Regions from separate parts of the Homo sapiens genome. Here all the other regions are linked to region 4. The links are contacts of gene promoters, found by promoter capture Hi-C in human tissues and cell types (Jung and others, 2019). All regions are on one chromosome and are shown on one strand. Each heading gives the region's core, a stretch centred on a gene start or on the middle of the fragment in contact. The rest is flanking DNA. Distances are from core to core; before and after follow the strand shown.

Region 1 (3,353 bases), core at 475-2,974, 290 kb before region 4:
AAGGAAAGTGCTCCTGGTGCAGGCCAACCCTGGATCAGGTGCTTCAGGGGGAGGGAGGCAGGTGAAGCATGGGCAGCCTCTCATCAGAGTTTCATCTCTGCCAGGTGACCAGATCCAAGAAATATCCTCTTCCAGATCTAGTCTCCTCGGGGACGGTGGGGAGACTGTGGTCAGAGTGGGTCAGAGAGGGCTCTGTAAACCACCAAGTGTGATGCACAGGTTACTGTGGAAGGACCGTCCCATGGGCAGCCTTCAGGGGCTAAGTCTTTCTCTGGGATTTGGTTTCCCAACTTGTACAACCAGAGGATTGGACAAAGTGATCCTGCAGTCTCCTCCTCTGCATCCCTGAGTCCTTTTGTAAGATGACCACAAATGACATTGGTCTACAGGGTCCAGGCACACAGCAGGTGCCTACTAAGTGCAGAAGTGCTCAGGGAGTGACTGCCCCAAGCCACATAGTGGCGCAGGATCGAAACCCAGGCTTCCCAACCCCCAGCACCTATCTCCTTTCTCCTTCCCCCTGCCACCACCCCCCAGAAATGATATCTGCAACTTGGCTTTTGGTTCCTGGTCACCAGGGAACCTACTCTCTAGTGGCAATTGGTTTATTGAGCACAGAAAGGTCAGCTCCCTCATTGTCCAGCTAAGGAAGTGGCTGCAAAACACCAACCTTTCATCGACTGCAGGATCTTAGTAATTGGCATTGTTAATCTGCCCCGGCTTCTGCTTCCCAGGCTTGGGAAAGACCTAGCCAACTCTCCCAGAAGCTCCTCAGAGTGGGGCTGAAAGGAACAAACAGCATTTTGGCCAGCAGCCCCACTCCAGCAAACCAGGTTATTCTCTTGGCAGTCATCTCCTCCAAACCTAAATGGGGATACCCAATCTGATTGCTGGAGAGAGGAGTGGGACTGAGGGCTGGGGCTAGCACAGTGTCTGGGGCATGGTAAACATTTAACTAATCTTTTCCAAAAGGGGCTAGGAAGGAAAGGAGGGAGGGGGTGATCTTGGGGACTTTTATTAGTCAGACACTTGGTATGCACATTACAGAAAACCCAATTTGAACTGGCCTAAGCCAAAATCTTTTTTAAAAACATAGGACAGGGAGGGGCTATAAGAACATTTGATGGGGTGGGAGTGGTTGATGGAACTGTCTGATATTCCAATTTGTGGTAGTGGTTATATGACTATATGTGTTTGTCAAAATACATGAAACTATACACTGAAGAATGTGGATTTTACCATGAGTAGATTATACCTCAATAAACCTAACCCTCATCCAATAAAAAAGAAAAATATATTAACTTACATGTTGAAGTCTAGATATGCTGCTTTCAGGCAAGGCTTGGTCCAGCAGCTCAAACAATGTCTCCAAAGTCCCAATTTCTCTGTTTCCTCACTCTGCCTTCTCTGGTGCTTGTTTCTCTCTCACTTCCCTCTGAGGCATCCAGCAAGCTTCAAGGTGTCTCCTATAAGGAACACAGAAGCTCCAGAGTCTCTTGACCTGGTAACAATTTGACCGTATCTATCACAGAGATTATATCTTTACTTCTCACTCTTAAGTAGAAGAAAGAGGAAGCGTCTCTTTTCTAGAAATCCCAGCAGATGCCTTCTTGCATCTCCTTGGCTTGTGATGGGCTCTCATGGTCTAGCCTTGAACCAATCACTACGACTTGACAGTGGAAAATGATGACTGGTATAAGCCAATCAGGGCACTCCCTGCAGTGGAGAGTGAGTTCCACTCTCACTCTAACCCCAACCCCAGGGCTAAGAATAAGAGAGGGGTGATGCATCCCAAAGCAACAAATTAGTCAGAGAGGAGGGGGGAAAAGACAAATGCCCATTACAGCTTCCCTTGGAAATTTCCCAACCTGTTACTCATGGAAGTTCCTACTCTTCTTTTTGGCTTCTTCAAATACTATCATGCTATAGAGAATCTTCCCAGCCCCACTGTCCCCAAGCGTTTTGAATGCACTCAACCACACTTCATCAATTGATTGCTTACTACTCAGAGAAGCCAGCATCCAGGCCCCATCCAGCAGGGCTGGAGCTCTTTGCACAGCAGCACCTGCTGCTGGCACAAAACTAGCCACCCCCCTACACACACACACACACACGCACACACACACACACACCCTCCTGGCTGTCCCCGACCTTGTTCCAAGGGCCTGTGAGATGTGTCAGCTGCCCCAAGGGAAGAAGATGGCTTGTGGGTGAGGGACAGGGGAGGCACACAGTGGAAACATACCTTGTACCCTGCTCCAGAGAATCATACAGTAACCTGCAGAAAAACTGAGTCACAGAGTCCTGAAAGATATACAGCAAGACATGGTGGTATTCCTGGCCTTGAATCACAGACTCCTGGCTTCTTGTCTGCACCACACAACCACTGGCTCTGTGTTTCTGAGCAAGTCAACTTACTCTTCTGAGCTTTGGAGTCTTTACCTGCAAAATAAGATTTGATGATGTTCCCCAGTGGGCTGGTTGCAAACCAGATCAGAATGGGAATGGCCAGTGATGATGGATACCTAGCCTAATCATTGACAATATATCACTCATCACATTTCAGGAATGTGTCACGTTGGTGATCCATGCTTCTTTCACTGTCTTGATTTGGATTTTCCCAAAAGCTGGCCCCCAGATGAACAGCAGTTTACTCGGAATGTGCAGAAAGCCCTTGCTGAAGAGTGGGAAAAGGAGATAAGGAAGAAGCCAGCCATACAGGATGCATTATCTATGGCAATTACCACCATGGGCAACTAGGGCTCAATTCCACTGGGGAACATTGGGAGATTCTGCAGAATATACATCTCAATGTTATTCCACCTGAGTGGGGAGGGAGCTGGGGTATTGATACAACAACTCCATCTGTTAGCAGTTGAGGGCTTCCTGGGAGTGTTAATTCCCAGCCTCTCTCTGCCTACCACTCACAAGGACCAAACAAACTCTGGTGACCAGAAAAACCCTCAGACAAAGAGCATTTGGTGTTGGCCATTGGAATGGGCCAGGTGCACATAGAAACATTTTGTGCTGAGAGCAATGTGGGTGAAGCACTAAAATACATGCCACATCCTCCTCCCTTCTCCACCTGGAGAAACACTTTATCTTCTTCAAGACTTAGCTCAGAGTATAATTTCCTCTGTGAAACCTTCTGCTAATCTCCCAAGGAGAATGGGAATTTGCTTTCTTGCAGCAACTTTATCTTGTCTCTATCACAAACATTGCTTCCATTCATTTGCTGGACATTCCCTCAAAGGCAGCTGGGTGCCAGGCACTGTACGGCTCTCTGATCTCACTGCACTATAACTGTTTTTTTTTTTTTTTACGTGCCTGTGAGCACTAGATCATGAGTTCTC
Region 2 (3,501 bases), core at 721-3,220, 340 kb before region 4:
ATTGATTCTAGAAGGGAATGAGCTCGTTGGTCCTCTCACCATCCTCAGTTCTGGGTAAACAGGGAGGCTCAGAGAGGTGAGAGGCTCCTAAGGGTACTTGGATAATGTATCCTGGTGATGACAGGATATGAATCTGGATGATACTTTGAAGTTCAGGATCCTGGATCTGGTTGAAAACACTCTGGAGGGGATTTCCAGGGGTGTCATGTGGGGCCCAGTGTAAGAGGCATCAGGCAGGTAACCAAGATAACCATCAGTGATGGGGATGGGGGGCAAAATAGGGACAAGCTCTGGTAGTAAACAAGAGTCCTGTGGTCAGACCAAGGCTCTGAGAGGATTGGAGGCCAAGGTCAGGCTGTGGGAAGGAGCTGAGGAATGACCTTTAATGCCTGTCCAAGGTGGCGTGGGGACTCTGGGAAGGGCTGAGCCTGCAGGGAGGAATCATGCTAAAGCTTATCATTGTCAGAGTAGAGGTTCTGTTCATCTCACCCTGCTGTGGATTTGCACGTGGTACAGATGCAAACAGTGCCTCTGTGGGCATATACCCCAAACTTACCATCCCAGTGCATGCTGAATGCACATGACAGCAAGCACCTGCAACTCCCTACCAGCACTTTTGCTCAGATGATGTGCATGAGGGCAAGGTCAGAAGCACCAGGAGTTAATGCTCCAAAAGCACCCTTCCAGTGATGGACAGGAGTTGGAGGATAAATATCTCAGCTCCCTCGCTCCCTGGGTAGATAACTGAGGTGTGTGTTTTACACTGGTTCTCAGACTTCCCCAGTGGGATTGAGTTCCAGCTGCTCAACGTGATAACCTGCTCATTAGTGCACCCTGGATAGGCTCTTTCCCTTCTCTGTCTCACTCCCTTCCTTCCCCACCAGTGCTTCCTGGATTATCCCCCTAAAATGCCACTTGCCTTCACATCCCTGTCTTGGGGTCTGTTTTAGGGAAGCCCATATTTAGACAGCACACATCCTGGGTGCAGGACTGGCTTATGGCTGGCTCTCCAGCCATTTAAAAGCAGCTTATCGTTTTCAGTTTCCATGTAAACCATTTGTTCTGGAAGCCCTTCCTGCCTTGGCCAGGTCTCCCTGGCATTTGCTCTCAGGAACTCATGAAACTTCCTACTTAATTTTGCATGACTCCCTTGCACTGGACTTTGAGTCCATGTGGGCAGGGCTACCATTGTTGTGTCATCCCCCAAGCCCCCAGCACCTGACACAGGACCCAGGGTTGGTCTAGGAAATATTTGTTAACTAAGACATAAAATATTCTTGTGTTGAACTCTTCCTGGGCACCAGACCCCGCACCTATTTCCTGCTGACTTTTCAGACATCATTGCACCCACTTTACAGATGGGGAGGTAGAACTCACTTCCCCCAAGGTCACTGTATTCACTATCTATGCCAAGTAACAAATTACCTCAAAGCAGAGATGCTTGAAACAACAGCACGGGTATCTCATGATTTCTGTAGGTCAGCCATCGAGGTTTACCTGGCTCCTCTGTTTTAGGGTCTCTCAGAGTCTACCATTAAGGTCTGGGGCTGCAGTATCATCCTAATAGGCTTGGCTGGAACAGGACATGACTTAAACTCACTCACTTGCTTGCTGGCAGAATTCGATTTCTTGCAGATTGTAGGACTGAGGGTCCTGCAGGAACTGGGACAGTTCCTGGTCACACAGGCATCTCCAATGTAGCAGCTTCCTTCTTCCAAGTGTGCAGGTGACAGAGAGAGAGAGACAGAGGCAGAGACAGAGAGAACAAGAAGGAATTCATGGTCTTTTTTAGCTTAATCTCGGAATTAACATGTCAGCACTTATGCAGTATTCTATTCTTTAGGAGGAAGTCACCAGGTCCAGCTCACAGTTAAAGGGAGGGAATACCATGATGTGAATACCAGCACGTGGGACCATTGACAGCCACATCAGAACCTGCCTGCCACAATCATTACTAAGGATCTGAACCCAGGCAGTGTGGTCTTTCTCAACGCCACAGAGTCTCTCTGACATAAGGGAGTGTGGACAGACCTCAAGGGTTGAAGAGGGTACCCTACGCTGAAAGAGAACGAAAAAGCCATTTCCTACTACCTGAGCTTTCCTCATTGCATGGAAATAATGGAAAGGAAAGAACAGAAGATTTTTTAAAAAACGTAAAAAGAATATAGGAAGCTACCAGCTTTCTCCAAGCAGCCTCAAAGACTGAAAAAAGAAAGCAAAAAAAGAAAGAAAGAAAATAGAAAACTACCAACTCTTCCAAGAAGCCTCAAAGACCAAGCAAACTGGCAGCATCTCGGAGTCACTTGGGCTGCCAAGAGGCTGCGACTTTTGGATCTGGAGAGATCTAAATACCAATCAGCTGATCCGAGGAACATTTTCCTCATTTCTTCCAGCATCTGCAAGCTGCTTTCGGGCCAAGAATGCTTCAGTTGGAGAAAGGGCTGTGTAGATTTGCCAGTGGCTGGCTGTCCCTGCAACTCCAGGTCCATCCTTATCCCAGTCTTTGGGATGGCTGACTCTGTGCTCACAGCTTAGGGAACAGGGACACATTGAATAGAAGCAAGAGAAGCAGAGACCATTGTGTTCCCACAAGAATGAAACAATCCATTAACCCTTTTGTTCCTGAGGTCGCAGGGCCAGGATCAGAGTGACCATTGACATAAACCTATAGGTTTGCCACACTCTTCTTTGGGATTTGTAATTATGACTAAGGTCCACTTCCCCTCTCTGGACTTCTATTTTCTCATCTATAAAATGACATTGACTCATGTTGTACCACCAACCTTGGAAGGAAGTTCCTCTGTAAGCTTGACAAACTCCTACTCATTCCTCAAAACCCCAACCAAAATATCCTTTCCCCCGAACCCAGGTAGGAAGTATAATAGTAGTTCATTTGTCTTATGATTCTCATAGTAATAATAAAAGCTAATATTACTGGAATGCCTACTATGTGCCAGTCATTGTTCTAAGTGCCTTACATAATTTAAATAATTTGATCCTCACATTGACCCACGAGGCAGGTGTCGCCATTACCTCTATTTGCCGATGAGGACATTGAGACTCAGAGGTTAAGTGACTTGCCCAGGGTTACCCAGTTAGTAAGTGGCACCAACAGTATTTGAACCCTGCTCTGGCTCAAGTCTGGCTTAAAACCGGTCTGCCCTCAGCAATCAGGGTCCTGGCCACCTTGCCTGGGTGGTTGATATTTGGGGATGGGTGTACTCTGTAGGACTGTGAGCTCCTGGAGAATGAGGTTGGAATGCCTGCTATGCAGCAGGCATTGTTTAACTCTGAGTCTCTCCTCCCAGCCCTGGGAACCACGCTGACTCCCAGGGCTTCTGGTCTCATTTGTCACACTTGCCTCTTCCTCAAGCAGAGTCCTTGGAGGAGCTGGGGGAGGTGTGTCGTGATGTGAGCAGCTCTGAAACCTTAAGCCATTCCTCTGACCCATCAGTGCACAAGCCAGGACCCAGAACATTGAAGAGAAAGTTCACACTGGTG
Region 3 (3,516 bases), core at 151-2,650, 460 kb before region 4:
TGCTTTTACCCCTGCTGTGCATTCAAGGAAAGGAGATCCGGAGAGGTTATAGCATCAGTCCCTAGTCACAAAAATTAGTAGCAGACCTGGGATTCATGCCAAGACATGCTGATGCCCTAACCAGGTCTCTTAACCACACCACTGCATGGCTTTTTGCAAAACTGTGGTTGATAAATTTTCCCTCTTTGTTATTTTGTGTCCTTCATGCCGGTAACTAACACGGTAAATTCCCATGCAAGTTTATTTCAAGGTTAACACTTGCCTTTGTAGATGACTTCCCTTGCTTTCTCTCATCAGAAATCCCTAACCGTGCGGGGTAAGCCTGGATGGCAAGGAGCTTAGAACACAACTCAGTGGTCATGAGCCTGACGTCATTCATCACTTTGCATACCTTCAAGTTCTTCCAACCTCCTCTCTCCTTCAAAAATCTTACTTAGGGCTCTGCCTCTTCCAAGAAGCAGTAGCAAGTCCCCCAGCTGATGAGCAGAATAAAAATTTTTACAAATGTGCATACCAATGGAGTTATTTTAGAATATGCCCAGGCCTGCAGAGGATGACTGCAAAAGCCCCTACTATTGGTAGAGCAGTGAGAAAATTGGTTTCACTGTCATGCCTTGTGTATTAGTTATCTATTGACTTATGCTAATTGACTGATGCTACATTTTTTAAAAAAACCACAAAACCTCAGCAGCATACAGCAATAAGTTTGCATTGCTTGTGCATTTAGGGTGCTCAGCCAGGTGGTTCTGCTGATCTTGCTGGGGATTACTCATGCCCAGGGCTTGGCTGGCTGTTGGCTGATTGAGACTGGCCTCAGTGGGAATGATTCTGGCATCTCAGTTTGCTCCATGTATCTCTCATCCTCCAGGGTAGCCTACGCATGTACGTCTTGCAGTGATGGCAAGGAGCAGGAGAAAGAAAGCCCATCCAAACAAGCATATTGGAAGCCTATGTATCCCATAAGCTGACATCTTGTTGCCCAAAGCATGTCATGTGCGTGGTCCAGAGTCAGTGTTGAAGGGCTCTGCAAAATCACATGGTAAAGACTGTGGTTTCAGGGAGGAGTGAAGATTTGTGCGCATTGCTCCAATTGACAACCATGGCACTAGGCTCAGGCCACACTTCTTCCTAACAAGAGAGCAAGTCAAAGCGTGGTTAGTTAAAGTCCATACAAAAACTCACTTTAACAGGCCTCCTCTGGATTGAACAGCTGATATTAAGTCATAAGGTACCACATCAGAAAGATACTGGGTATCTTTGGTTCAGCAATTCCATCACCAGGGACTTTTTCATCCTAAGGAAATCACTGCACGGTGGACAAAGATATATGCATAAGGATGCTCCTTCTGGCCAAAGACCAAAAACATAACTGGCCATCAGTAAAAGCCAAGTGAGTAAACTATGGTCTATATATGCAATGATCAAAGAAATAAAGGAAAATATATAATTCTCTAGAAAGTATCAAGTAATATGGAAGGAAACTAGGCAGGGGAGGAGAATGGGTGTGGGGGCAACAAGGAGAGGCCAGAGTGAGAAGGTGAGGCTGTGACCTCAGAATGATGAGGTGTGCGGGGAGGAGATTCCAGGCAGTGGGACAGCATGTGCAAAGGGCCAGCGTGTGTGAGGGGTCCTGATGTCACCAACACTACCACTAGCCCTCCTCCAAGTCCTCTCCCATGGGTCACATGAGCTCATATGGTTGCAATCCAATTTCAAAAAGGTCTCCTAACTTACCAGGCTCAAGCTGTTACTGAGAGTCCACCTTGACTTCTCAGGGGTCACTCCATTTTCCAAAGACCAACCAATTAGGTACAAGAGCAGAAGGGCTGTGGCCAAACAGACTTGCTGGAATTGCTCTTTGAAAGGGTATGAGCCAAGATTTTTTTATTTTTTCTTTTTTTAGACAGAGTCTCACTCTGTTACCCAGGCTGGAATGCAGTGGCACGATCTTGGTTCACTGCAACCTCCGCCCTCCAGGTTCAAGTGATTCTTCTGTTTCAGCCCCCCAAGTAGCTGAGACTACAGGCACAAACCACCACGTCCAACTAATTTTTGTATTTTTAGTAGAGACGGGGTTTTGCCATGTTGGCCAGGCTGATCTCAAACTCCTGACCTCAGGTGATCCCTCTGCCTTGGCCTCCCAAAGTGTTGGGATTACAGGTATGAGCCACCCCACCTGGCCCAAGATTTCTAATAGGTGGGTGCTACAGGTTGAATGTGTCCCCCAAAGTTGATGTGCTGGAAACTTGATCCCCAATGCAACAGTGTTGGGAGGTGGGGCCTGATGGGAGGTGTTTAATGAGGGCTCCACTTTCATTAATGAATTAATGCCAATTATAAAAGGGCTGACTCGAGGCTGCAAGTTTAATCTCTTGCTCTCTCACTCTTTCTCGCCCTTCCACCTTCTACCATGGAATGACACAGCATGAAGGTCCTCACTAGATACAGCCCCTCAATCTTAGACATCCCATTCTCCAGAACTGTAAGAAATAAATCTCTGTTCCTCATAAATTACCCAGTCTCAGGCATTCTGTTATAGTAATACTTCATGGACAAAGACAATGTGTGAGCAGAGGGAAGGGAGTAACCAATGGGACCAGAGACAGCCTGGGATGGAGGAGAAGAGAGAGGTTTTGCAAATCAGTTGAGCTGGCTTTGCCTGGCCCCACCATTTACCCACTTTATGACCAAAGGCCTGTCACTTCACCTCTTGGAGCCTCAGTTTCCCCGTGAATATGAGAATCACACCCACTGCTAAGGTCATAAAGATTCAATGGCATGCACAGTACTTGGCACATTGGATATACTCAACTGATGGTAGCTAGATATTGTTGTTGCTGTTTCCTCTATCTCATTCTCTTTTCCTGACTTCATAGAACAAAACCACAATGCACTTCAACCAGGGCCCAAGCTTCTATTGAGCATGAAGCAGTCTTTGTTTTCCCTGAGCCCTCTTTTGAATTTTAGATTATAGGTTTGATTAAGGATTCAAGATATTAGAATATGAGAATGCAAGTAACATTCTGTTTTTCCTGCTTGTAGATATTGATTTTCTGCCCCCATCTTTCTATTCCATGGAGTTTGATGCCCAGGGACACATGTGGGCTGAAACAGACTGCCTCACCCCCACACACTGAGGCAGGCCCAAGCCTCTAATTATAGGGCAAGTTTAGGGTGGTCAGGCAGTCAGTACCTGGGTAAAGTCAGGCCTGAATTCATTCATTTATTTGCTAAGAAACATATGAATTCATTTATTTGCTAGTGAACCCAGCATTTACTGTGAGCAGGCAGTGTACTGGGAGTGGAGAAGCAGTAGACAATACCCAGCCCCAAAGAACTCACTATCGTAAATACCATGATGATAATAATGACAGCTATTTACTAAACACTTGCTACAGGCACTGTCCTTTTATTTTCTAATTTGATTATCCTAACAGTCAACATCCTGCCACCTGCCTACATCTCCCCAGGTACCTGACTGTGATGTAAGACAGGCTAGAGCCCTCAGGGGAAAAG
Region 4 (3,443 bases), core at 56-2,555:
GTTCATGCTCAGTCCGGTCTCGTTAAAGTTCCTCTCGCCCTGGCCAGCGTTCCTGCTGTTGACCTGGGGCTCGAATTGGTCCAGCCCAAACATACTTGGCGGGGGGCAGAGGGGGATCAATAGGGCATGACAGCCGGCTCTCCGCGGCGCGCCTCCGGCCAGCTACTCGTTCCAGCCCAGGATTGGGCGCTCCGGGACGCTCAGCACCGCGGGGGCTCAGCGCGCACCTCCACCCCGCCTGATGTGAGGGACGGGGGGCGGGGTATTAGCTCCTCTCCTGAAGCTCCGATTCTGCCCGGGGAGGGCCTCTCACATCTTGCGAGGCCGCGGGGCCTCTAGGAGCCGTGTTGGGGGGCCCATGCCCCGGGCGGTTGTCACAGCCGCGGGTGGGTCTGCGGGGAGGGGACGAAGCCGCGGATGAACGGAGACAAAAAGTTAAGTGGGGGGAATGGGGAGGGAAGGGGGTTGGGAGAGCAGAGCGATCACCTTCTCAAGTCCGATTGGGTCTGCTGGGGAGCCCTCAGGACGCCGCCCGCAGCCTCCCGGAGTCCGTGGCAGAGCTGCTAAGGGCAGGGGAGGGAGACCCTTCAAAGCCGCGGCTGGCGCCGGGCACCGACAGAGCGGTCCCTCCCCCCGCCCCCCGGAGTCCCCGCGCCCCGCAGCCCGAGCCTCCACCGAGCACGATCCGCTCGCACAATCCCCGTAGGCTCCGGGCGAGCGGCTGCTGCTTCTTCAGCGGGTCGGAGGACTGGAGGCTCCGCTCGGCATCGCCGGTGCCGGCCCCCGAGCCGAGGACGCAGAGGGGCTGCGAGGCGGCAGGCGCCGGGGGCTGGAGCCGAGGGTCGGGGAAAGGCGCGGCTCCTCTGCTCGGCAGCGGGTGCGCTGCGTTCGGCGCGCAGCTTCGCGGCCACGTCCGCCGCCTGCCGCTTCTGTTCTCCGCCGTTGGGTGTCTGAGTTCGCCGGAGTCTCCGCGCACCGTTGCAGGCGCGGGAGGGCAGCGAGACGAGGGGTTGGGTCGCTCCAAGGCTCCGGTTCCCTGCCTCCGCGCTGAGGTGCTTCGCGAGTCCCTCTCGGACCTGAGGGAGGGGGGCGTACGCGGGTCGGGGGGCCACGCCGGGCGAGCAGGCTAAGGCGTTCCCGCTGCGCTCTCAGAGCCCGGAATGGGGGGAGGGGGGCGCGGGGGCAGCTCTGGGGGGTCTGCGCACCCCTCTCCCGACTAGCGGGGGGGCTCTGCGTGGGGCGTTCCGAGGGTCTCGGCTCCCCTCTCTGTGTCTGCCTCTCGCCCAGCGCCGGGAGAAGCAGCAACAAGTTTTGCATTTCAGCAATCAATTTCAGCCATTACATTTGCACCAATCAGCGCCGCCCAAGTTCCGGGCTCGGGGCGGGGCTCGCTCTTAAGGTGGTCCGGGGTCCTGGCTGCCGAAGCCCCCGCCACGAACCCGCACTACCCCAGCTCTGGGGTCCCCTGCGCCCGCCTCTCCTCGGGGTCCGGCGTCAGTGCGCTGGGGGCGCGCCCCGGCCTCCGGGCGCATCGAGCTGGAGAGGGTGCAGGCGGAGGAGAATGGCGGGAGCTTGGCTTTGTTCACCCCCTTCCCATTCACACTGTTCCCAACTCCCCACCCCCAACTGGAGCGAGACCCACCGGGTGGGCAGGGGGCGGGGAGGTGGGCGGTGAGCGGTACGGGGCGCTCAGACAATGAGGTCGCCAGGCAAAGACCCTAGACTCGCCACGGAAAGTCGCTAAGTGTCTACTGCACTTCGGCTCCGGGGTGAACACTCCGTTCTCCGCTAGCGGCGCCCAAGTTAGCCGGCCCTGGGATTTTCTTGGAGGGTAAAGCAGACGGGGAACCTCGAAGTTAGGGTTCTCCTCGAGAGACCTGGGCGCTTGCTCACTCCTCCGTCACTAGGGCGTTCACAATTGTTCCCCTTCCCCACTGCCTGGGGTTCCCGGTTCTCACCGGCCGGCGTGGGCTCCAAGGAGTCACAGTCACTCAGCCACTTTATGGGGGAGCACATCGGTTGAGCCCAGTAACCGGAGCGACTTGCGAGGCGGCTGGGAACCCCGAGAAGACACGCACGAAGAGGGCGCACCCGCCGGGCCGCACACCTTGCCCTGGGCCACCCGGTCCAAGACCCAGACCCTCTGCGGGTGCGAAGTTGGCCTCCTTAAGAGATCAATTAAACTGAAGAGGCCGAGGAATGGAATTGGGCTGTGATACTAAAATCAATAGGAGTAATTTAATATCTGCCCTGCTCTTTATGAAATATTTATCCCAATAATCTTAGTTAAAATGTTTAGATCGTCCTGATCCCCACAGAGGCTGAAATCTATCTTGCAATTAGAAGTTGGAAGTTAGAGGTGATGGAGGATAGAGGTGTTTATTCTGTGCGCCTGTGTGCGTGTGCTCGCGCCTGCGTGCGTGTGTTTGTGCATGCGTGTGTGTGTGTGTGTGTGTTCCTCCCTAAAGTGTGTGTAGGGAAGGAGGGGGGAGAAGGCCTTTAATTTTCCTTGCCATAAAATAGCACGAGGCGATTTTGCTAGCAGATTCGCATTCTTAGGAGAAGGGCGAAAAAAGAACTTTCTTTGAAGTGCCCCTGATATCGCTATTAAATCTAAATAAAATTAAGCGTGGTGTATGAAAATGCCTTTCCCCCCCCACAAAAGAAAGTGTTTATCGCCCGAGTCTGTCTAGCGTTTGCTAAATTACGCATGAAATCTGAAATGAAATAAACGTTATAATAAAACCAACCCCTGAGCCCTTTTTATTTAAAAACCTTAGATTAAGCACTCCACCGTCGCGGGCAGGAGTTAAAAAGTTACCATGTCGTACGCGCAGATTCATTGCTCCCCTGAGTTGCGGCTAGGAAGGCAGTGCTAAGTATGCCAGAACCGACATGCCGGGGGTGGGGGGAAATGGGCTCAACTTTGGGGTAGCGGCAGAATTCCTAAGAAATTGCCCCCCGCCCAAAAAAAATTTTAATTAAAAATAAACAAACAAGAAAAAACAACAACTTTAAAACTCAGCCAGAGCAAGCTCAGATCCAAGACCTTTCCCGGGGCCTTCCTGTTGTGGAAGTTTACAGACATATATATTTTTTCTTTTTTGAAATTAAAAATGAAAATTACCCCCATCAAAAATGGGGTCCATAAATAAGCATAGGGAATAAGTATTTGTACAGGGCGGTGGAGTTTTTAAAGGATTTTTCTGCAGGATCAGGTTGTTGGTCTGTGATTAAATATTGATTTTGTGTAATTAGTTTTCATGTGAACTATCCTCTTGCTGATAGCTTAGAGGTTTCAGAACTAGAAAAGAAATGGAATTGGACATGGAAATTATTACTTAGCAAAGTGACAGGGAAGTGAGAGCCAGAGAAAAGACTGAGGCTTTGCTGATTTAGGCACAAAGAAATAAAGGCTTGGGTAGGCCCTCCAGTGACACCCC
Region 5 (3,253 bases), core at 508-3,007, 270 kb before region 4:
AGCCTTCCTCCTTAGAGACAGTTTGTTCTCTCAACAGCTGTTAGAAATTTGAGGTTTTTCCATGCTCCAGGCTCAGAAAGGAAAGGGGGGAGACAGCTCTAGGGACACATGCTTGCCAATGCCTGTGTCCTGGGAAGGAGGATGTGCACCTACCAATCACCTACTTTGTGCAACCACCGTTGGCCATGCACCCGCTTCACCAGCCCTGTGGGCAAGCAGCAGGCTCTAGCTGGGCATCCAATGGGTTCTCAATAGTGTTGAATTCACGACTCCACCACTGAAATCCTGCAAGCAACTTTGCCACTCCTAGCCTCAGCTTCCTCATCTATAAAACAGGCATGGTAATCACCCCCTTCTTCACAGGGCGACTGGGAGAGAGTCATCAGTGTCAAGCACTTAGCACGTGTGCAGTCAATGCAATTTATAGTAATTACTTCTGTATATGAGATTGTAATTGTAATTGTTACAGCAGCACTGTGAGATTGAGAGGACTATCTTCCTTTTCAAATCAACAGTTAAGGTCCCAGGGAGGTTAAATGACTTTTCCACGTTCCCACGGCCACAGGAGCAGCTACGTGATTTGTGGGGCCCAGCGCAGAATAAAAACATGGAGACTTTTGTTCAAAAATTATCAAGAATTGCAAGGTGACAACAGCCGAGCATTAGGTCAAGCGTGGGGCCCGATGTGGTGTCCATGAGGACAGCTCTGCATGGCCAGACTGAGCCAAGCCAGAATGCATATCCAGGTCCCCCCAACTCAAAAGCCAGTGCTTGTTCTACTTCTAAACTCCACCGTGGCCTCGAACTTCACCCTGCCAATCCAGCAGTGATTGTGCTGGAAAATAGCATTTTCCAAAAAGCATCCTCTGTTACCTTAAAGAGAAAACAGATATGTACATGTTTAGGGGGATACCCAGTGACTGGTAAAGTTCAGACCAAGCCCTGCCCAGAAGTTGCCAGGAAGTGCCTCCACCTCTCCTGCATCCAGGGAAGCTTCCCCAAGGCTCAGATGGAAGGCTGCCTCTTTCCAAAAGTCATCTGTGATTGGATCCCTTTTTCTCTGGCATTCCTTCAATTATCAGACGATGCTTGCTGATACCTATACGTGTGGGTCTCTGTCCTAGGCCCTGAGAGTTGGGCACATACAGAAGGTGGGCCCCATCTTCAAGGGAGACTTGTCATTAGAAGGAAATAAAAACATTACACATCAACAGCAGGTCTCATCTATGCAAAAAATTAGACCTAGAACAAAAGACTGGAAGGAAGTACTTCCACATGAGGGGTACTCAGCCCCGGATGGTGGAACTGAAGAGGGCTTTCTTTGCGGATAAAAAGGAGTAGCTTGCCCTAGGGCTGCTATATCTGGCACGGGGACTTCTGAACTGGGGGGTTTAAGTTTTAGGAGGCAATAATGTTCAGATTTAGATTTTTTTTAGATATAGCTTTTGTATTTTTTTCCAATTTCCTATAAGGATCCTATCACAGTTGCATATTTAAGGACTACGAAATGAACGTATTTTAAGGCATGAACTGTGACTAAATGATGGGGCAGGGATAGGAGCCTATGTGTGCCTGACTCCCAAACTTGTGTATCACCTCGTTGCTCCATGCCTCAGTTTCCCCATCTGTTGATAAGGCAGTGGGATCTGCCACCCTTTGAGGTCCTGCTACCCTGACATTCAGAGTGTATTTGACACCATAAGCTGCCAAGCAGGGAAAACTGGGGTGGTTTCTGGCCATCAGAGGAACCCAATCAACTCCATCACATATGCTAACTGTACACCTATGATGTACCAAACCTGGGGACACCATGAATAACAAGCCCACATGCCACTCACAGCTTCGGAGGGAAACAGCAAACAAATGATCCCAAATGATCACTTATATGAGTCCAAGTGTGCAACCTGCTGCAGAGGAGAAGGCAGAGCGTTCTGGGATCAAAAGCGTGAGACTTAATACAGAGGTCAGGGGAGGCTTCCACATGGAAGAGGCACTTCGGGTAAACGAGAGCCAGCCAGGGGAAGGAAGGAGAGAAACGCACACAAGGACCCTGAGTCAGGCGATTGCAGCTCTGGGAAGGATGTCTAGAACAGCTGAAGCAGAGAAAACCAGAGAGACCAAGCTAGAGGATGAGGCCTCAGAGACCAGAGGGGCCGGTTCACATGGGCCCTTGCAAGTCACTGGCAGGATTCTGCACTTTTCTCAAGGGCACTGGGAAGCCATGGATGGCTCAACCTAGAAGGAGCCTGATAAGCTCATAGAAGACCAGAGTCCTCTGCCCCGAGCAGCAATTCCTGTGGGGCCTTTTGTGGCCACACTTGACTAGGTACTGGGGATGGGTTCATTCATAAATTAGGTTTAGCCTGAGTGCCAGGAGGAGGGGCCTCACAGGCAAGACGTTTGTTCAGGGTCAGGTACCTAGAACATTCCCTGGCTGCCACCAGAAGGCTCTGTCTTTACCAAAAAGTCATCCCAGGAGAGCTCACAGCCAGGTTTTATCACTGCTCTCAACCCCAAGGCCACATTTTTTCATCTCAGAGCCTCACACCTTGAAGGCCGGCAGGCTCAGTATAAAACATCCCAGCACGGAGCCAGTGCACAGTAGGTGTTTCATGACAAAAGCCACCATTCTTTGAGTAGTTACCATGTTCTCATGGTTCTGAGAATTTCTATTCATAAACATAGTTAACCATCATATTACTCCATGAGGTAGGAACCAGTATCCTCTTTGTTCTGGAGATGTCTGTCAGACTGATGCTTGGAGACGTTTCTTTTCAGGGCCAAGGCCTCAAAGAGGTCTCACAGCAGGTCTCCATCACAACCACCTGTCTTCTTAACTCCTTCTCTGCCCCACTTCCTCTTTACACATAGTAGGGCATCCTCCGACTCCTTCCAGAGGCCATTTGCACGTATTTTCTTGTGGGTAGCAGAATGAGGGTCACAGCCAACAGCAGGGTTAAAGTCCCTGCACATGGGCTGTGGTAAGGGTTGAGACAGCACTGGTAAAGCACTGGCTTAGTAGTTGGTATTCCATACCCACTTGATAAATGATGGAGGGTCCATGATGACTGGACCCTCACATCACCATTGAGCCAGGGATAGCTCTGTGGTATTCATTCCACTGGTCAAATAGGTCAAGGGAGGCCCAGAGAGCTAATGTCAAGCCAAAAGTCTCACAGCAAGATCAGAGTTGGGACTGTCCCAACCCCACACACAGGATCCACGCATTGCTCCATAGAAGTTTCCTGAGGGC
Region 6 (3,705 bases), core at 423-2,922, 500 kb before region 4:
CGCTGCCGGGAGGGCTGGTGGAGGAGCAGGAAGTCTGGGGGCTCAGATGCGCGCCCTCGGTCCACCCCCTCTCTCCCCTGTAATGTGGGGAGGGTTTATCTCACCAGGAGCAGCAGGCTCAGTCACTGATCTAATCAAATTATTCAGCATTAAAAAACTGCCAAGACATTCCAGTACTTCAGCTCCCAGAGACCCAGCTGGGATCAAATGCTAATCAACATCGCCACGATATTTATTCCCACTGTCAGGCTGCTGCGTGTTTGTTTTCCGAGGGCTGCATACTAAAGCGGAGGAGCGAGATGGATCGGCCCAGTGGCCGGGAGATGAGGAGCCGAGGACGGCAGGGAGGAGGCCAGGCAGGTGGGGAAGAGAAGGCCGGACCCAGGAGAGGCACCCACAGAGCTCACAGGGCGGGGCAATGGCCCCGAAATCACCCCACCAAAATGTCCGGCGTCCTTTTCCAAGATGCCCTCTCCTCACCTCCACTCTCATGAGTCCCATTTCAAGGCAAGTCAGCGGCGGGTCTGGACTCAGAGAGGCTGACCTTTGAACTCAGCCTCTGTGATTCCAGGTACACGGTTTAACCTCTTTGGGCTTTGTGCTTTCTCCTCTGTCGCCTGGGGCCCTAAGCCCACCCCACCAGCTAGCCAGGGATTCACTGAGAGGGAGGTGATAAAAGAAGCAGGGCCAGACGGATGCTGGTCCGGGCCCTCGCTGTGTGACTGTGTGCAGCTTACTTAACCTCTCTGTGCCTCAAGTTTTCTCCTTGGTAACTGGGGATAACAATAGTGACCAATCCCACGAGGGTATCTGTTTAAGTGAATTAATACCCAGAAAGCATATATGAGCACTCAGTATATGTTAGGAATAATTACTAGCTCTCCACATTTTTGCAAGAGTTGGATGAAATAATGCATGTAAAATATTAGCAGGGGAGCTGGAATGGATGAGATCTGATCCCGATTATCAGGATCAAAGAATGAATCAAATGCCCACACTGTCATTGCGTTCGGGTTGCTGGGCTCTTACCTCTCTCAGGGATCCCTCCCTGGATCCCAGAGGGGCCTCTGAGCCAAGATCGCAGGCCCCGGGATGCCTTCCCTGCAGGGGCAGCAGAAACCAGGAAGGACCCTCCCAGACTCATGCCTGAACTTGGCACCCTTCTCCTGGGATCCTGCCCACCCCTCGCCCCCTCCCTGAAGGTCACAGCACAGGGGGGAAGACGAATTAATTTCCTTTGTTTTTCAGAGTTTCATTTTTTAAATTACAGCCTTCCCTCCTCTCTAATAAATACTCAACAATTAAAGCTTTTTTTTCTCAAAGTGTGATTTCAACATTTCAATGTCCCTCCCCTCCTGTCACCTTCGCTGCCATAAACAGATTCGTAAAAACTGCTTTTGACGCCCCAGCTGCCATTAGCCACTTAAAATCCCGTAATTATCATCCTATCACGGGCCTGTTAACGAGCAGTAAAAATAAGGCCATTGAATATGGTAATTTATTCGTAAATTAGCCTAATGAGAATAGGTTTCAGACACTGTTTACTTGCGGGCTGCCTGCGCCAGGCCCAGGCAGCAGCGACAGGAGCTATGCCTGGGAGGGCGGCTGGGCGCCCACCGGGTGGCAATGCCCCCTCCCCATGGCTCTGCACCCATGGCATCCATTCTTGTTCCCTTCATCAAGATGGCATCTGGCTCCGTGGGCTGTGGGGACAAGTGACAGCCCTGCCTGCCCTAGCCTGGCTCCAGACAGTAAGATATGAATGTCAGGGCCTATGGTCAGTGCTGATCGCTACTGGGAAACCTTTACATGCTCAGTGACCTTGGGCATATCACTCTCTGGCCCTCAGTTTTCTCATCTGCAAAATGGGATTAATGTGCCAACTAATGAGGTTATTTTGAAGATGAAGCAAGGTAACATATAGAAATGCTTGGGACAGGGCCTAGCACAGAGTTAGGTGCTTTCTACATATATTATAGCCACTATTATGATCTTTGGGACGTTAGCCCCAGCAGATAAAATCCAGGGCTGGCTGACTTACCCTAAAAAATTATCCCTACTGGGCTGGGCGCGGAGGCTCACGCCTGTAATCCCAGCACTTTGGGAGTCTGAGGCGGGTGGATCACGAGGTCAGGAGATCGAGACCATCCTGGCTAACAAGGTGAAACCCCGTCTCTACTAAAAAATACAAAAAAATTAGCCGGGCGTGGTGGCAGGTGCCTGTAGTCTCAGCTACTCGGGAGGCTGAGGCAGGAGAATGGCGTGAACCCGGGAGGCGGAGCTTGCAGTGGGCCGAGATCACGCCACTGCATTCCAGCCTGGGCGACAGAGCAAGACTCCATCTCAAAAAAAAAAAAAAAATTATCCCTACTGTAGTGAGTGAAATAGTGCCCTCCCGCCCCCTGAAGTCACATCAACTTGGAAATTCATCATGTGATTTTATTTGAAAACAGGGTCTTGGAAGGTGTAATTAAATTAAGATCAGGTTGCGCTGGATTAGGGTGGGCCCTAAATCCAATGACTCATGTTCTTTTTTCTTTTTCTTTTCTTTTTTTTTTCTGAGATAGGGTCTCCCTCGGTCACCCAGGTCGTCAGGCTGGAGTGTGATGGCATGATCACAGTCACTGCAGCCTTGACCTCCCCAGCTCAAGCAATCCTCCCACCTCAGCCTCCCGAGTAGCTAGGACTACAGGCACGTGCCACCACGCCTGGCCAATATCGGGGTTTTTTTTAGAGACAGGTCTCACGATGTTGTCCAGGCTGGTCACAAACTCCTGGCCTCAAGCAAATGGGTGTTTTTGTAAGAAGAGGAGAGAACACACAAAAACATGAAGAAGAGGAGACAGACATGTGAAAATGGGGGCAGAGACTGGAAAGATGCGACCACAAGGTGAGGGACTCCTGGGGCCACCAGAAGCTGGAAAAGGCAAGGAAGGATGATTCCAAGGTTTTGGCCTGAATACCTGGGAGAAGAGAGGCGCCATCTTCTGAAACTTGGCTTTGGCTAAAAGTTGGGCAGAGGAAAGAGCCTGGGGTCTGAGTTGGGCTCAGCTGTACCGTAAACCAGGTGTCCAATGGTCAGTGGAGCTCTGCGAGGGCAAAGACTCTGTCCTCTCAGCTTGACCAGCATATGATGTATGTAATGAATATTTGCTGAGCAAACCACACACCAGGCACCTCGCTGGCCCTGGACCAGTTTGTCAAAGCCCCAGTCTGCCCACCAGGGCTCCAGGCTGACAAGTTCAGCAGGTATCAAAGGAAGCTTCGTGGGAAGTACTTTTACTTTCCACTGGGTGAGTCTGTGGCCTCTGAAGCCCAGAGGAGGCCCCAACCAGTCCGGGGGTCTCAGAGACGTCTTACTGGGCTTGTGGGCTTCATTCACGTGTTGATTGTTCAGTAGGGAGGAACTGCCAAGTCCCCAAGGTGGTAACGGAACACGATGCACACTAAGGCCAGCAAGTGAATGTGCCCGAGCCTCAGTTTCCTCATCTGTAAAATGGGCCCAATGATCTGTACCTCCTAAAACCTGGTGGGGCATGACTGAGATCTAGCACGTCAAGCGTGCAGTGTGGTACTAGGCTGTATGTAGCAAACAGAAGCTGCCGTTGTGGCAGCTGTGGTCATTATTAGCATTCTTAGTGATCCACCTCTTCCTCCGAGTCTGCAAAGACTGGCGGCTTGGCTAGGCATCCTGACTTCTCTGCC
Region 7 (3,413 bases), core at 12-2,511, 320 kb before region 4:
ATACAAAAAAAAAAAAAAATCAGCCGGGCGTGGTGGCACATGCCTGTAATCCCAGCTACTCGAAAGGCTGAGGCAGGAGAATCACTTGAACCCAGGAGGTGGAGGTTGCAGTGAGCCGAGATCGCACCACTGCAGTCCAGCCTGGGCAACAGAGTGAGACTCCATCTCATTCAGATCAACAGGGGATGGTTGGAGTGTCCCAAGTCGGAATGTGGCTCCAGCAAAGAAGAAGACAACACTTGAGAGGTGGCTTCAAAATACACAACACAATGGCAGCATTCAAAGCAACAGTCACTGTTTTTTTGGTGTTGGGCCATTTTGGTTTGGTTTGGTTCAGTTCGGTTCGGTTTGGTTCAGATTGGTTTGGTTTGGTTTGGTTTGGATTGGTTTGGTTTGGTTTGGTTTGGTTTGGTTTGGTTTGGTTTGGTTTGGATTGGTTTGGTTTGGTGTGGTTTGGTTTGGTTTGGATTGGTTTGGTTTGGATGGGTTTGGTTTGGTTTGGTTTGGTTTGGATTGGTTTGGTTTGGATTGGTTTGGTTTGGTTTGGTTTGGATTGGTTTGGTTTGGTTTGGGTTGGTTTGGTTTGGTTTGGTTTGGTTTGCATTGGTTTGGTTTGGTTTGGATTGGTTTGGTTTGGTTTGGTTTGGTTTGGTTTGGTTTGGTTTGGTTTGGTTTGGATTGGTTTGGTTTGGTTTGGTTTGGTTTGGATTGGTTTGGTTTGGATTGGTTTGGATGGGAAATTTTTTTTTTTTTTTTTTTTTGCAGCTGTATCAGGGGGTCCAGAAAGGAAGGCAATGGGGATTCCTCTACTTGGGGAACTCTGCCTAGAGGGTGGGTAGATTTTCCAGGGATAGGATGGTCCCAGCCCCTGACAGATGCCAAGTTGAAGACAAGGGCACTGCTCGGAGGCCAGGTGTCTCCCTGACTGGGGAGGTCCTCCTGACTTGAGTCCAGGGCCTCATATGACTATGTCTAAGCACCTGTGACACACCTGGAGCAACACCCAGGAAGGCAGAGGGGAGGGCGAGAACCTGGTATTGACTGCCAAGTGCATGGCACAATGGACCAGGAGGAGGACGGTGGGGAGGAGGAGAGGGAGGAAGAAGGAAGAAGAAAACAGCAGGGAGGCAAACTGAGGCCCAAGGCCGTAAGGTGACAGCCAGGAATTTAGGTTCCCTAATTCTCAGCCTTTTATCCTCATTGCTTCTTTAGACTTTGGGTGGAACGTACGGGAAAAGATAATTGATGCTGCTGAAATAAAGTCAATAAAATTCTCTCTCTCTCCCTCTCCCTCCCCCCATCATTTAATGAGCACTTACTACATGTCAGGCACACTGACCCCCTCCACCTCTTTCAAGCCTCACCATTATTGTGTGAAGCAGTGGTCACAAGCCCCCGTTTCCAGGTGAGGAGCTGAGGCTGAGTGTGTTTCAGGCGCTTAACCAGAGGCCCACACCAAGCAGGTGGCCGAGCCATCCTTGCGGAGTCCCCCCGACTCCCTCCTTGCAGGAACTACTGAACTCCCCTGGCAGCAGCGGTACTGGGAGTCTGTCTGCCCCCCAGGAGACAGGCACAGGGGCTGGGCCCACAGAGAAATGGGGCCTGACTCCCCAGCCCCCTGTCACCATCCTGACGTTTCTCTATCTCCTCCCTCTCTTCCTAACCTCCTTTTTCCTTTCTCGTTCCGCTTATACTCTTCTGGTCTTGGCTCTGCCAGGAGCCTCTTCTTAAGTTTTTATTTTTAAATAACAGCTTTTTAAAAGCTTTTTTAAAAAAAAAGAAAAGAAAAAGAAAAACAGCTTTACTGAGATATAATTCACTTACTATTTAATTTGCCCGTTTACAGCACACAATTCAATCATTTTTAGTCTATTCACAATATGAGCGAAACCGTCACCACAGTCAGGCTTAGAACACTTCCACCACCCCACAAAGAAACTCAGTTCCTCTCAGCTATCACCCCATCCTCCCACCACACCCCCAGCCCCTGAAAACCACAAATCTACCTTCTGTCTCTATGGATTGCACTGATCTGAATGTTTCATAGAAATGGAATCATATAGTACATGATGTTTTGTGTCTGGCTTCCTTCACTTAGAATAATGTCTTCAAGGTTCATCCATGTTGTGGCATGTGTCAATGTGACATTCCTTCTTGAGGCTGAATAATACCCCATTGTATGGGTGGACCATACTTTGACTATTGATGAACATTTGGGTTACGTCCACACTTTGGCTCTTATGAATAACGCTGCTGTGAACATTCCTGTACAAGTCTCTGTGTGGCCATGTGTTCTCACTTCTCTTGAGTAGATACCTAGGAGTGGAATTGCCTGGTCACAGGGTAACCGCATGTTTATTCCTTTGAGGATCTGCCCCACTGTTTTCCAAAGTGGCTGGACCTTTTTTATTCCCACTCTCCCCTACTTTTCAAAAGTACCGTATATTGAGCCAGGCACTCATGGGCATCATCTCTTTGAATCCTCACCACAGTCTACCCACGGGATATCTAGGCATGACCATCACCTCATCTTCCAGATAAACTGAGGCTGAGAGACACAAGGCTGCTTGCCTGGGTCACTTGGCCGGTTGGTGTTCCAGGATCCCGATCAGCTGCCCTGCTTCCAACCACGCCACTGGGGCCATCCCTCCATCCCCAGTGGGGCCGCTGTTTGGGAGGCTGGGATGAACCACTGGGCCTGTGGCGACTCCTGCTCCAAGGAGACCCTCCCCCATGCCTGACAGGTGATCCTGGGAGGAATATTTACCCTAGGGCTCCGTCTGCCGAGTGGGAAAGCCCTCGGGTGCTGTAACTGGAGAGGCCCAGTCCTGAGGCTCTGCTGAGGCTGGAGGAAAAGCACAAAGGGTTCTTTGTCCTGCCCATTGTTTGCACTTGCAGCCAGCCTTGCTGTGCCCCTCAGACCAGCACGGGGCACGCTGGGTCTGCAGAGCAGCTGGGCTGTCTCAGGTTCTCCGGGGGGCCCCCTGGGATAAACCAGAGGATTCATTGGGGCGGAGGCAGAGGGGATATGGAAAATATTGGGAGCTTAGTAGGCACTCAGCGTATGGGAAATCATCCCCTAGACTTTTTAAAGGAGTCTTTTGTCCTTGGTTGTAAAGTCACCAGGCATATGCATAAAAAGGATGAAACAGCCCCAAGGGTATGGTTGTACTCCTCTGCCCACCCTGAGCCCAGCAGCCATGTCCATGCCTCTTGTGTGTCTTTCCAGAAAGTTTTTATGCTTATATATGAAAATGAACACGTGTGTGAGTGTGCTTCTTTTTTACATATAAATGGCGACTTTCTTTTTTCCTTAAGATTTAAATAGATTTTACTGCGACAGGGGAGACCCCACCAAGCAGGGCCAATATATGTGGTCCCAGGAGGTCAAGAAATGGTGACTTTCCGTATCC

What was found. The method cuts DNA at HindIII sites, captures the fragments that hold promoters and counts their contacts. A contact is called where the count stands out against the background at its distance.
Region 1: a fragment that was not itself captured here is called in contact with the fragment with the promoter of MN1 in region 4 in 2 of the 25 tissues and cell types used here (H1 embryonic stem cells and spleen).
Region 2: a contact is called between a fragment that was not itself captured here and the fragment with the promoter of MN1 in region 4, in 6 of the 25 tissues and cell types used here (IMR-90 fibroblasts, aorta, dorsolateral prefrontal cortex and 3 more).
Region 3: a contact is called between a fragment that was not itself captured here and the fragment with the promoter of MN1 in region 4, in 1 of the 25 tissues and cell types used here (dorsolateral prefrontal cortex).
Region 5: a contact is called between a fragment that was not itself captured here and the fragment with the promoter of MN1 in region 4, in 1 of the 25 tissues and cell types used here (heart left ventricle).
Region 6: a fragment that was not itself captured here is called in contact with the fragment with the promoter of MN1 in region 4 in 3 of the 25 tissues and cell types used here (dorsolateral prefrontal cortex, hippocampus and mesendoderm cells).
Region 7: a fragment that was not itself captured here is called in contact with the fragment with the promoter of MN1 in region 4 in 3 of the 25 tissues and cell types used here (IMR-90 fibroblasts, dorsolateral prefrontal cortex and neural progenitor cells).

Annotation. Positions count from the first base shown.
Region 1 is chr22:27,506,504-27,509,856 of GRCh38, forward strand. It overlaps LOC105372981 (a long non-coding RNA gene), which reads right to left. Exons shown (of 6, transcript XR_938124.2): 2 at 2,246-2,442; 3 at 1,307-1,466; 4 at 671-782. Among named protein-coding and RNA genes, the nearest start is that of LINC02554, 200 kb to the left of the region's middle. The HindIII fragment of the contact is 3,173 bases long and covers 139-3,311 here.
Region 2 is chr22:27,458,350-27,461,850 of GRCh38, forward strand. No RefSeq gene overlaps it. Among named protein-coding and RNA genes, the nearest start is that of LINC02554, 150 kb to the left of the region's middle. RefSeq lists an enhancer at 3,012-3,501. The HindIII fragment of the contact is 4,250 bases long and covers 1-3,501 here.
Region 3 is chr22:27,336,268-27,339,783 of GRCh38, forward strand. The region is part of intron 4 of LOC102724900 (a long non-coding RNA gene); the gene reads left to right. Among named protein-coding and RNA genes, the nearest start is that of LINC02554, 27 kb to the left of the region's middle. The HindIII fragment of the contact is 5,238 bases long and covers 1-3,516 here.
Region 4 is chr22:27,800,451-27,803,893 of GRCh38, forward strand. It overlaps MN1 (MN1 proto-oncogene, transcriptional regulator), which reads right to left and starts at 1,306. Exons shown (of 2, transcript NM_002430.3): 1 at 1-1,306. The coding sequence starts at 93. The HindIII fragment of the contact is 23,630 bases long and covers 1-3,443 here.
Region 5 is chr22:27,527,172-27,530,424 of GRCh38, forward strand. The region is part of intron 1 of LOC105372981 (a long non-coding RNA gene); the gene reads right to left. Among named protein-coding and RNA genes, the nearest start is that of CPMER, 190 kb to the right of the region's middle. The HindIII fragment of the contact is 7,230 bases long and covers 1-3,253 here.
Region 6 is chr22:27,299,236-27,302,940 of GRCh38, forward strand. No RefSeq gene overlaps it. Among named protein-coding and RNA genes, the nearest start is that of LINC02554, 9.6 kb to the right of the region's middle. The HindIII fragment of the contact is 3,810 bases long and covers 1-3,577 here.
Region 7 is chr22:27,477,849-27,481,261 of GRCh38, forward strand. No RefSeq gene overlaps it. Among named protein-coding and RNA genes, the nearest start is that of LINC02554, 170 kb to the left of the region's middle. The HindIII fragment of the contact is 6,915 bases long and covers 1-3,413 here.